Regions from separate parts of the Homo sapiens genome. Here region 1 is linked to region 2. Evidence: promoter capture Hi-C in human tissues and cell types (Jung and others, 2019). All regions are on one chromosome and are shown on one strand. The core of a region is centred on a gene start or on the middle of the fragment in contact, and the rest is flanking DNA. Distances in the headings are between cores, read along the strand shown. Region 1 overlaps LIMD1 (LIM domain containing 1). Region 2 holds the start of CDCP1 (CUB domain containing protein 1).

Evidence for each region. Contacts are between HindIII fragments. The study calls those that stand out against the background at their distance.
Region 1: a contact is called between a fragment that was not itself captured here and the fragment with the promoter of CDCP1 in region 2, in 1 of the 25 tissues and cell types used here (hippocampus).

Annotation. Positions count from the first base shown.
Region 1 is chr3:45,658,976-45,665,580 of GRCh38, reverse strand. All of the region lies in intron 2 of LIMD1 (LIM domain containing 1), which reads right to left. Among named protein-coding and RNA genes, the nearest start is that of LIMD1-AS1, 27 kb to the left of the region's middle. The HindIII fragment of the contact is 5,401 bases long and covers 8-5,408 here.
Region 2 is chr3:45,142,258-45,149,170 of GRCh38, reverse strand. CDCP1 (CUB domain containing protein 1) reads left to right here and starts at 2,793. Exons shown (of 9, transcript NM_022842.5): 1 at 2,793-2,965. The coding sequence starts at 2,884. The HindIII fragment of the contact is 13,721 bases long and covers 1-6,913 here.

The DNA.
Region 1 (6,605 bases), core at 1,459-3,958, 520 kb before region 2:
TGAAAAGCAAAATCTTTAGGCAGAAATAAACACGTAAAAACCGCCAACTGTCAATGACACTTTCCAGTTCCTAAAAGATGCCGTGGCCCTCGGCGAGAGGCAGGCAGGCTGAGGCCGGGAGGAAGGGTGCCCTGGCAGGTGCTATTTGGCAAAAAGACTCAAGGGCTGACTTGGAAGTCATCCTACGCTCACCTTCCAGCACCTCCTATCTGCTTGGAAAGATGCCAGCAAAGCATTTGGTGGCAGGACAGCAGAGGCAACACAAGGGGGCATCCAAGCAACAGTCTCTTGTGAAGATGCAGTTTCCCACAGGCATTTATGACAGTCACCTTGGACATATGCTCCAGGACCATTGTGACCGCCTATCAGGAGAGTCCTATACATTGGTTAACTATTATTTTCCTATCTTTTTCTCACCTAAACTGTAGAAAACACACATTGTTGGAAGGATATTTTTGTTTCTCTTGACCTAAAACGAGTAGGCGGGAGTGGGAAAAGTTCAAAGCACCCTGATTCCTTGGATGGAACTCTTGCTTCCATAAGGCTAACACAGGTAAACATCCTTTATCAGTCCCTCTCATCTCTTATGGAAAACACAATGGGGCTGTGAGCTCAAGGTCAGCAGAGGGTGTCCCGGGATCCCCTACTTGGCAGTATTCACAGATCTGAGGGCATTTCCAGTGCTAGGCTCAACACATACTCAACAGGCAATGTGGGGGTTTCAGAAACTGAATGAACTCTCTGCAAAAAGTTAAACCAAGCCCTTTGGGGCCAGCCCACAAAATGAAAGTAAAATCATCATTGTCACAAACAGTGCCCGAGATACAGAGAAACCCGCCAGACGAACACTGGCTGCCCTCGCCTGGTGACGCCCACAGGAGGCAAAGCAGCGCAAGGCAGATAGCGACAAGACTGTCAAAGAACATTCCTCAGACCTCAGAGAGGACCCTGAAAGCATCAACGCAGCGGAAAAGGCATAAAAAAGGAAGTAACTTTAACTACAAATCCATCTTCTTTGCTGTGGTGGTCGTTGCTACCAGATCTAGTGTTGTCTGAATGTTTCCCCCAGCCCTCCTGTAGGTTCCTGTAGGACTTTTTAATACTCTGAGTATATGCTACATTCCTTGAAGATATAGCTAAGTCAGCTTCATACTTGGAGGGGAAGCTTTGGCAATACTCTAACAGAGTGCAGTACATGTTGAGTTAAAGAAAAAAGGAAGAGTAAGCCATGGATCAGAAGATGGCCAAAGCACATATAAAATGCTATTAGTATCTGGCCGGGCACAGTTGTTCACGTCTGTAGTCCCAGCATTTTGGGAGGCTGACACGGGAGGATCACTTGAGGTCAGGAGTTTGGGACCAGCCTGGCCAACATGGTGAAACTTTGTCTCTACAAAAGGTACAAAAATTGGCCGGGCACAGTGGCTCAAGCCTGTAGTGCCAGCACTTTGGGAGGCTGAGGCAGGTGGATCACCTGAGGTCAGGAGTTCGAGATCAGCCTGGCCAATATGGTGAAACCCCATCTCTACTAAAAATACAAAAAAGAGCTGGGCATGGTGGCATGCACCTGTAACCCCAGCTACTTGGGAGACTGAGGCAGGAGAATCGCCTGCACCTAGGAGGCGGAGGTTGCAGTGAGCCGAGATCATGCCACTGCACTCCAGCCTGGGTGACAGAGGGAGACTCTGTCTCAAAAAAAAAAAAAAAAAAAATTAGCCAGGCATGGTGCCACGCACTACTTGGGAGTCTGAGGCAGAAGAATCACTTGAACCCAGGAGGTGGAGATTGCAGTGAGTCAAGACTGGGCAACAGAGCAAGACTCTGTCTCAAAAATAAATAAATAAAATAAATTAAAATAGTATTAGTACCTAAGACACAAAGAACACCAATTAATAAGAAAAAGATAAATAATCCAATGGGGAAATGAGCAAAGGGCAGGAAGAGAAAGTGCATAGAATAGAAAACCTGTTATACCTTAGGAATAACCAGGATTATTAATCATAACCCCAATATCTATAATAAAAAGATGTTCTATCCTATCAACAATCAGGATAATGCAAACTAAAACCACAATGAGATTCTATCTCACTTTCATAGATTGGCAAAAATTACTAAATCTAATAGCATGTCTTGGAAGGTGTGGGACAAGAGGAGCCCTTTCACACTGGTGGGAGTATCATCAACTGGGATGACTACTTGGGAACAATTTGTCAAGGGCCAATAGATCTGAAAATACACATAATCCACAACACACTTCTAAGGTTGCCCCTTGAGAAGATTACCCAAACATGCATGAGGACAGACATGTATGGATGTTCACGGCAACGTTGTTATGGAAAAACTAGAAGCGTCTTCAGTGTTCACTAGATATGAGAATTGATAAATAGACGAAGAAACTGGAGCTGTATTTACTGGATGTAATACCAGACAGCAGTCAAAATGAAAGGGCTAGATCTATGCATATCATTATTAATTGAACTGAACACCAGTGCAAATAAGGCAAAATGCCTGAAGATATACCAATGATCGTATATGTGTAAGTTTGAGAGTGCGCACACACACATACACAAACTAGTACTGTTTTGTTTTTTTTTTTTGAGACGGAGTCTCGCTGTGTCGCCCAGGCTGGAGTGCAGTGGCACGATCTTGGTTCACTGCAGCCTCTGCCTCCCAGGTTCAAGTGATTCTCCTGCCTCAGCCTCCCAAGCAACTGGGATTACAGGCACTCACCACCATACCCGGCTAATTTTTGTATTTTTAGTAGAGATGGTGGCCAGGCTGGTCTCGAACTCCTGACCTCAGGTGATCCACCCACCTCGGCCTCCCAAAGTGCTGGGATTACAGGTGTGAGCCACCATGCCCGGCCACAAACTAGTACTGTAAACTAGTACTGTATGTTTTTTATTGACAATAGTATATATGGTAACAGTAGGAAAATTTCAATTCATAATGGCAGCTGCCCTAGGGAAGGAAGGGAGAGGATGGGAAAAGGAATCAAGATGATTCCAATTTTTATATAATATTTTATTTCCTTTATAAAAATACAGAATCAAAGCTACAATGTAAAAATGTCTGTGCATTCTGGGTGATAGGTAAATAAGGATTATTTCCTATAGTACTTTCCAGTAGGTTTTAAAATACACACACAATTTTTATATATTTAATTTCCTTTATAAAAAATATCAAACCAAAACTATAATGTAAAAATGTCTGTGCATTCTGGGTGACAGGTAAATAAGGATTATTTCCCATAGTACCTTCCAGTAGGTTTTACACGCGCACACACACACACACACACACACACTTAGGTGAAACACCGTAAACGAAAAGGCAATAACAAACTAGAGCAAACATCTATACTGTATGACAGAAAAGGATGTAACTCTAATATGAAAATAACTCAAGTAACAGTCCTATATAAAAAATGGGTAAAGAATAGGCAGACAAACCACAAAATAAGTATGAATGATCAATAACTATAAAATAAAATCTTTAGCTTTCCTCATGATTTAAAAAATATTGCTGCCAGGCACAGTGGCTCACACCTGTAATTCCAACACTTTGGGAGGCCAAGGTGGGAGGATCACTTGAACCCAGGAGCTCAAGACCAGCCTAGGCAACACAGCAAGATCCCATCTCTACAAATAATAAAAAAGTTAGCTAGGTGTAGTGGGGCACGCCTGTAGTCCCAGCTACTTAGGAGGCTGAGCTAGGAGGATCACTTGTGCCTAGAGGTTGAGACTGCAGTGAGCTGAGATCACGTCTGTGCACGCCAGCCTGGGCAATAGAGTGAGACTCTGTCTCTCCAAAAACAAACAACAACAAAAAACCCTATGCTTTACCTATCAGACTAGCAAAGCTTAAAAAGAATGATAACCCCAGTGTTAGTAATGACACAGACAAACAGATACTTGTTCACACTCTGCAAGGGATAGCAGAAGCTAAAACAAGCTCTTAGGAGAGAAATTTGTATTAAATGTCAGTAGAATTTACAAAGTTCAGATATTTTCTCCCCAAAAATTCTATTTCAGGAATTTATCCTAGTTCCAGAAATCGTCATCTCAGATTTATAATAGCTTGCTAAAAATGAGCATCAAATGTCCAATTCCTATTAAATGATAACCCATATACATGTTGGAATATTATGCAGCCATAAAAAGATTGTGTTTTCAAAAAAATATTTATTGACAGGGAAAAATACTTAAAATATTTTAAAGGAAGTATATAAGTATGTGGGTTACAGTTATGAACACACTCACATATATGATGACAAAATTATGTGTACACTCATACACATAAGATGTACACCAAATTTTAAGTCATTATCTTTGAGTGTAAGAAATAGGTGATTTTCAATTACCATTTTTTCCTGCAATAATTATGCATTATTTTTATAACCTGAAACAAAGTTTAATGGAGTAGGGGAATGTGGGTGGGGGTGCATGGAAGGGATAATAGGACTTACATAGAAGGCCACAACTCTTTAGGTCTCCAAAGCTGCTCTCTTGTCCTCCCCTCAAAGTTACTGTTGCCCTCTCTTCTAGAAGGTCCCCATCCTTGAACGTTCGCAGTATTTTCTGACTCTGCTAAACTAAGGTACCAAGAATGTCTACCTACAGCTGGGTGATCTCAGGGATCATCATCAGAACCCCCTTGACAGCCATGGAAATTAATTTCAGTTACTTAAACTTTCTCTCTATAAAGGGACTCCAGAGAACTCGAAGTTTTAGAAAAGAAAATGAGAACTAACTAGAGTATCTTTCCCATACTTTTCCCACGTCGGACACCTACCTGGGTGACAGCTGATCTGCTGCCCTCTGTCCCTCCCCAGGAACAAGGTGACGAGGAACACAAACAGCCCACCTGGCCGGGCGCGGTGGCTCACGCCTGTGATCCCAGCACTCTGGGAGGCTGAGGCTGTTGGACCACTTGAGATCACGAGTTCGAGACCAGCCTGGCCAACATGGCGAAACCTCATCTCCACTAAAAATACAAAAATTAGCTTGGCATGGTGGCACGCGCCTATAATCCTAGCTACTTGGGAGGCCGCGGTAGGAGAATCGCTTGAACCTGGGAGGCGGAGGCTGCAGGAAGCTAAGATCGCGCCATTGCACTCTAGCCTTTATGACAGAGAGAGACTCCGTCTCGGGAAAAAAAAAAAAAAAAAAAAAAAAAGACAGCCCACCTAAGAGAAGCTTGCTCAACCAGTAAGCAAAACTATTCACACACTGTCTGATCACAAAGTCCAAATCTTTACTTGTGGAGCTCCCCACTTTCGCCTCTTCCTTCTCGGAATTCCCGCAGGGTAAACTCATTCCTCAAGAGAGGAAAGAAGGTGGGGCTGCAGTTGCGGATGGGGCCCCTAGAGGGAGCTAGGAGGCCACCAGGAAACGGCGCAGGACTTCCAGAGCTTAGGCTTCTGATCCAATGTATGGAGAACACAGCAAACAGCACTTTGGTTCCAGGAATGGGGTTAGCAAGTTCTAAGGAATCTGAGCTGGAAATCAACGTTTTGTGTAATAGGGCGAAGATCACCTCTATTCCAAAAATCACAGAGGAAGATCATTGAACATGCAGAAGCACTGAACCCTCTAGTGTTAAGAAACAAATTAAACGAAAGCTTTTTCATCCAGGAGATCAACAAAGATTTTTTAAGTGTTTGTGATTGTTGTCACTGTATATTTTCATAAGCTACTGCTGAGAGTGTAAGATGATAAACTCTCCCTGGAAGGGAAACTTTAAAATGTTTATCTCTGACTCAGTGAGGTTATCTGAGACTTAGCTTTGGGAAAGAATTTTAAAAAGTGAATAAATATTTACTTAGATCCAAACTGGCAGCCTTAGAGGAATGGTTATATAAACCAGAGTACATATAAATGATGAAATGTTACATAGCTATTTAAAATGTCATTTAAATAGTGTTTTAGTCATATTGGAAAATGCTTATATATAGCATATATATATGTTTGGGGATAGCATATATATATGTTTGGGGTTTTTTTGAGATGGAGCCTGACTCTGTCACCCAGGCTGGAGTGCAGTGGTGCAATCTGCAGCCTCAGCCTCCCAGGCTCAAGGAATCCTCCCACCTCGGCCTCCTGAGTAGATAGGGCTACAGGTGTGCACCACCACAACTGCCTAATTTTTGTATTTTTTTGTAGAGACAGTGTTTCGCCATGTTGTCTAAGGCTAGTCAACAACTCCTGGGCTCAAGTGATCAGCCCATCTCAGGATTACAGGTGTGAACTACTGCACCCAGACTGAAAATATATTAACAAGTGAAAAAAGCAAACTTGACAAGTGTATTTATAGTACAATTCCATTTCAGTAATTTGCAGATACCACTGATATGCAAAAGGGAAAAAAACAAACAGTGGGTAACACTGGTAGAAGTATAACAGTGAAACATCACTTTCTACTTTATATACTTTAATATTTTAAATTTTCTTTCTAGTATTAGGTACAGTGACAGATGGTATTAGAGAGAAATTTCACTTTACTTCACATATTTCTATATTAAATTTTTCTAGAAATATGTATAATATGAAAAAATACTTTTAATCTTAAAAGAAAACCCTTATGTTATAATGTGAAAAGTAAAAAGC
Region 2 (6,913 bases), core at 1,544-4,043:
TGGAAGCTGGACGAGGGACTGTTGCCCAGGCAAGGGTAATGATGGATGGGTTCTGGGATCTAACCACAGTACTTCTCAAACAGCTTTCTTCTAGCCTTTCTTGTTTAACTCCTCTTTCACCCTCCAGTTGCAGAATACCTTGTGCTGCCATTTCCTGAGGATCTTTTTTGAGGATTTCTGTGTTAATCGTGTTATTTCTGAGTTTTCCCCACTACTGGCTTAGGGTTCTGCCATCTCCAGGCTCCTAAGGCAGCTACCACTAGTCCAGCTGCTGTCTAGCTTCCAGGGTGATTTTGCTGTTGTCTTCTCTCTGTTCTTCCCACCTTTGTGGGCTTATGTAATTTTTTTTAATCCCTGTTTTACAGCCTTTGCAGGGTTTCAGAAGAGGTCAAAATTAGATGGGACAGTCTGTTTTAAGACTCACCTTCCTTTTTTTTTTTTTTCTTTTTTTAGAGAGAGAACTTTACTCTGTCGCCCAGGCTGGAGTGGAATGGTGCAATCTTAGCTCACTGCAACCTCCACCTCCCAGGTTCAAGCAATTCTCCTGTCTCAGCCTCCTGGGTAGCTGGGACTACAGGCGCCCGCCACCACAGCCGGCTAATTTTTGTGTTTTTAGTAGAGATGAGGTTTTGCCATGTTGGCCAGGCTGGTCTCCAACTCCTGACCTCAAGTTATCCACCCACCTTGTCCTCCCAAAGTGCTGGGATTACAGGCATGAGCTACTGCACCCAGCCGAAAATTTACCTTTCAATCTCTCATTTCTCTCTAGCACTAGATTATAGTTACCTACGTTGCTTTCCAGTTCAGAAATAACCTTTTAAAATTTACTCCTTCCATTCAGCCATGTTTGTAAAGACAAAACATGTCCATTCTTGGCAATGCTTTGTTCACACTCCACTTGGAGGACCAGGACAGTATGTCAGGACATCTTTACTTCAACTATGTAGTTGGGTTGTCACGCAAAGGATGCTGAAGTGCCTCCCTATTTTCTTCTTTCTCGTTGCTGCTACTTTCTGGAACCACCACCAATGCTTCATATTTGGGAATTAGTGACTCTCATTCCATTTTCAGAAAGCTGGTGTCAACTATCCCAAGAAAGACAGTTAAGCAAACTTTGGAGAGACGAAATAGTAAGGAAATAACTTGTTCCTTAGGCTTAACTTGTCAAGCAATATTTCTGATATTTTGCATTCAATACACTGCCATTCTAGTACTGTTGTGGGTATTACTGTATGTGGGAAACAATGGTGTCATGGATGTTAGGAAAAGATGCTGGGATATATATGCCTGCTTAGAATCAGGAGAAAAGACAAATCTCCTTTCACCCTCCTGGTCAGCATAAATATTTTTAAAGATTGTTTAGATTTTTGTCAAGATTTCTTTCTCTTGATGAATTTGTCCTCGATTCAGTGGGGAGAACCAAGAGCCTCTCTTCGTTTCTCATCCTCTCCCTTCCCTCTAGTTCTCAGTTTTCCCATTTTTCTGCACAAGGACAGAAGTGGACTAGAAGATTACATCTAAGGTCCCGTTTAGCTCACGATACAGGCCCTCCCAGAGGTGGGGGTGTGGGCAGGGTCATGTTCCAAGTTCTGCCTCCCTCGATGGACTGTGGGCTCCCAGAGGGCAGAGCTAGCTCTATTCTCATGATTAAGGACATCGAGAAGGAAGGGGTGACGCTCCTAGGAGATGATTTCCCACCCCTGTCCACAAGGAGGATTGGGGCAGCCTGGAGAGGCTCAGTGCCCGCAAGAATTAAGCAGAAGTTGGGACTGGACTGTAAACTGATGCTGTCGCACATGCTTTGGTTCCTGTCCCAAGCCTCCCAGGTTGCTCCGGGTGACTCTGGCCCAGCTTCTGGCTATCCATGAACACAAGTAGTCCCAGGGAGTCATTCTGGCAGAACCCAGGTCTGCTAGCTAAGAACTCCTGAACCATCCGCAATCTCTGCCTGTGGCCTGGACTTGGTGTATGGCCGGCAGGGTGGAAGGAGAACCCACAGGGCCTCTGAAGACAGGCAGGTGGCACACCTGCGGCTGGGAGGATTTGGAAAAGGAGTCCAGCGCCATTCATTTTTCATTCATTTTCCAGCCCAACGTTTGACCTGAATGCTTCACGCTCACACTGCACACACTACTCCATTTATAATACAACTCGAGAAGGGCACATACTACTCCATCCACAGCTCAGTGAAGGGATGCATACTACTCTACTCACAATTCAACGAAGTGGTGCATCTGCCTCTAATTTACTAGCTACCCTGGGGACCTTGGACACGTTGCGTGTCTGGAAATACTGCAGGTGATGTGTGTGGAGTAGGCTGCAGGCTCACCGTCCTGCAAATACTAGCTGTACCACCACCGGCTTTAAAGTCCAACAGACCTCTGGCCCAAGTCAAGTAGCAGAGGATCCAGGGCTTGGGTGGCCCACAAATAGGATTCTTCTCCAAAACGAGGCGCATAATGGCCTTTGTCTCCTCGACAGAAAAGGGAAGGTAGACTGGCTTCCTCTATGGGCGACCTTCGCGACTCTGGAGAAAAAGACCTCATCATTCTCAGACTTGGGAAGGAAGACTAAGCCCGGAAAGGTGGGGACAAGTCCGCTCCAACGCCGCAATGGGGAGTAGTAGGGACCCAGCAACCCGGTGCCGGGAGCCCTGCACCCTGGGAGGGAGAGGCGGTCGCTGAGGCAGGAAGAGGAGGAGGAGAGAGAGGAGGGACGCACCGGGTCAGCTCGCGATCCTGCTGCGCAGGGCGGGGCTCGGGCCGGTCCGCCCGCGCGCAGGTGAGTGAGCCAGGGCGGAGCGCAGCTGCGCCGGGCTTGGGCGCCTGGGGCCGCCGCTCCCCACCGTCGTTTTCCCCACCGAGGCCGAGGCGTCCCGGAGTCATGGCCGGCCTGAACTGCGGGGTCTCTATCGCACTGCTAGGGGTTCTGCTGCTGGGTGCGGCGCGCCTGCCGCGCGGGGCAGGTGAGTGCCGGGCTTTGGAGGCGGATGGCGTGGAGTGGTGAGCTAGCCAGCCAGCGGACGCCCGGCGGAGATGCGGCCGAGGGACGCAGGGTGCGGAGGGTGCGGAGGGTGCGGAGAGAGGGCGGGGACGGCGTAGTCAAAATGCGCGGGTGGCTCCGGGACCCCCGGACTGTTCGGTTCCTGCGCGCGCCGCGTCGGGCGCGTGGGCCTTGCCCTCCTGGAGTCAACCTTGCCCTCGGCACGTGAGAGTGTCCCCGATCGGGGAGCCTCCCGGTCCGGGAGGATGAGCCCGGTGCTGGCCGAGAAGGCGGGAAAAGGAGCTCCCGGTAGCCGATCCCAGGCGACATGTCCAAGGTGGCGCGCCGTGCGCCCCAGGGTCTTTGCCGGGATTCTTGAAAGCACCCAGGCAGGGTGTGGGAAGAGATCTTTCCTCTCCAGGCTCGCCCTCTACCTCCTCGCCTGGTCCAGAGAGAAGGTGCAAAAAAAGTGCTTTCACGTCCGCATTTCCCACTAGATCCCCTTTTTCCCGTCCGCACGCTGCATTCCCCCTCTCCTAAAGTTGAAGAGCGTTGGTGCAAAAATGAAAGCGCCCGGATTTCTTTTAGGGGGTCCCAGAGAAAGCCGCCAGGCATCTGCGCCACCGCAGAGACTGGACATTCCCGCGCCCCTCGCACTTTTTGGCAGTGGACTTTGAGGGCAGGAGGCTGTTGTTCCGGGGATATGTGTGAATTTCGAGTTGTTTCGGTTGGGGGAAGGGACCAACACGTCCCAGTGACCTGTGCCAGCCAGGAAATGCCCTGTGGGCCCTGGATGTATTAGAACGTAGTAAATAACCTGGTTTCTTCATGTAAGAACTTGATGTGAGGCTAGTACAGGTTTCGCGAGATTAGTACAGGTTTTGTGTTTTTTAAATAGAGCTCTCCAGGAAGCCATGTGGGTTTGATTCCCCTTGCTGCATCTAGGGTGGATTTGTGTTTGGCAGGTGTAAATTAGATAAAGGAATAAAAGGACGCAAGTGAGGTTGAATTTGGGCGTCCCGGTGACTGCCGTCTTTACAAATACAAGACAGGAGCTTCTAAAATATCAATATAAGCTCCAGGAATACTTCCTGGTTCATTCTCCAACATCAGGTGACATATTGCTGCATAGTAGATAGAAAATTTAAAACTTCATTTAAACCATGGCATGGATTTATAAATATATATATAAATTATATATATTAAAGTAGAGACAGGGTTTCACTGTGTTGCCCAGGCTGGTCTCGAGCTCCTGAGCTCAAGTGATCCTCCCACCTGGGCCTCCCAAAGTGCTGGGATTACAGATGTGAGCCACTGTGCCTGGCTGATGAATATTTACTATAATTTCTTAGGACTGAATTTCCAAGATTCCCTTTGAAGAAAAAGAATTAGTTTAAGAATAAAAAGGAAGTGAAAATATGTGTATATGTGTGCTGAGAAAAATGCGTGCCTACCAGTCTTGGAACAGTATTGAAACTCTGGGAATTATCTGAGATGTTTTTGGCTTTCTGTGACAACAGTGGGGAACTCTTCCAGTCAGAACAGGGTGTTAATCAAGGCATTGCTAATAATGAGAGCCTCTGTTCCTGGTCTCATTTCTCCCTGTGATCTGGGAAGGCTGCCATTTTGGTCCAGTAACTCCAATGGAGTCCCTTCCAGGAAGTCCTTGACTGGCTGAGCCCTGTCTCATGGTTCAATACATAAATACGTAGAAACCTAGGAACTTTCCCTTTCGCTTTCTTAAGTTCCTCCCTATGGTCTCAGGAACTGGCCCTTTGAGGGTACATCAGGCTGAACTGAGAGCTTTTGTGGTTGGAGTAGTTGCCTGTAGTCTTGAGGATCTAAGTGGCAAAGGCCTTTGAGAAATTCCTGGAGACTGTCCTGAAAGGATACAGAAAGCCAGAGCCCTGGCACAGTGGATTTGTTTTATAAATCCATGAAGTCTCTTAACAAAGAAAGACTCAGCAGAGTAAAAATGAATTTGGTGTCACTGCAGAGATGAAAAGTAAAGGAAAGTTTGTGTCTTGGTGTCGTGTGTTTGTGTGACTTTGGTATCCCCACCAACTCCCCCATTTCCAAGAGTGAAACACTGGTTACATTGGGATCATAGCCTTTTGAAAACCTCCATTTGGTTGCTTTCTAAGAACCACTCAGATACCAGAGTCTGGGTCAGTGACCCCAATCTTGCCACCATTGTCTCTTGCCAAAAATGTGAGCAGACAGATCAAATGATATATTCACACTCCCTGGGTGAGTGTGGGTGTTCATTCTGTTTCCGATTCAAATGAGGAGCTACTGGCTGTTGTCTGGAATGTGTAACTGGTAGCGCTGATGAGTCTCCCCCATCTCCTCCCCCACATCCCCACAGATTTGCATGACTTGGAGTCAGACCTGTTAGCCCTAGGGCTCACCTCAGATGCTGCCATTTCATCTATGATGGTTGCACGCCTTGCATGTGCACACACACACTCTTCTGGGTGTTCTCCCTGGCTATCAATATGGGGGAAGGAAGTTAATAATTAAGATGTTTTAAGTAGCATATAGTTATTGTAGAAAAAGTGGCAATAAATATAACCAAAATGGAAAAAAATTATCTATAAGCAAACTGCCTTATTCACTTTGATGCAGTCTTCTTAATGTGTATGTATGCACGCTCATGTGCACAAACCAAAAATGGGATCATCCCATTGTATGGCTTTAACCAGTCCCCAGTTGTTGGACATTTAAGTTGCTTCCAGTTTTTCTTATTAAAAATAGAACACGTCCAACAATAGCCAGCTGCTTGTATCAATTTTAATAGGTCTATTCAGTGAAAAGGCACTTGAAATTACATAGCACAGACTAGAAAATGACATGAAAGGATGAACCATTATCCTCATGTTGCCAAGGTTATAAAATGGTATCAACTGGATTATCCCATTTTGATGTATCTAAGAATGTGTTCTTCAGCTGTGTTGTTCTGCACACTCTTTTTTTAAATTTTTGAGACAGAGTTTCACTCTTATTGCCCAAGCTGGAGTGCAATGGCGCGATCTCGGCTCACTGCAACCTCCGTCTCCCAGGTTCAAGCTATTCTCCTACCTCAGCCTCCTGAGTAGCTGGGATTACAGGTGTGCACCACCACACCCAGCTAATTTTTTGTATTTTTAGTAGAAACGGGGTTTCACCATATTAGCCAGGCTCGTCTCAAACTCCTGACCTCAGGTGATCTGCCCGCCTCGGCCTCCTGAAGTGCTGGGATTACAGGCGTGAGCCACCGCGCCCATGTTCTGAACATTCTTAACTATTTTGTCCAGCTACAGTTCTGGAAGCAGAGTTGCTGGGATGAAGAGTAGAGAGGCTCTTAGGGCTTTGGACGCGCATTTCCACGTTCTGGAAGCAGAGTTGCTGGGATGAAGAGTAGAGAGGTTCTTAGGTCTTTGCACGCGTATTTCCGTGTTCTGGAAGCAGAGTTGCTGGGATGAAGAGTAGAGAGGCTCTTAGGGCTTTAGTTGCGTATTTCCATGTTCTGGAAGCAGAATTGCTGGGATGAAGAGTAGAGAGGTTCTTAGGGCTTTGGATGCGTCTTTCCATGTCACCTGTGGAGAGCCTGTCCTGGTGTGCTTTCCAGCCATCAGTGTGTTAGTGCTTGTTTCTCACATTCTCCCAGGCTCTCCTCACTGTTGTTTCACCAGCATCTATGGAAGAAGCATTTTCCTCCCTCCAATTTGGCAAATAGAATCTGGACAGTGTTGCTGGGCAGACTCAAGAGTCTTAGAAGCACCACCCCAGCTGGATGGTACTAATAGCTCACCAGTGCTTTTTTGCCAAAAGAAAACAGAACTGGGTCCCTTGGCTTATAACACAAGCCTCACCTGCGTTTTTGCCTAGCGGTGCTGACCTGGGTTTGGATGGGATAGGATGAGGTGGGGAGTGGGTAGGGAGAGGAGTC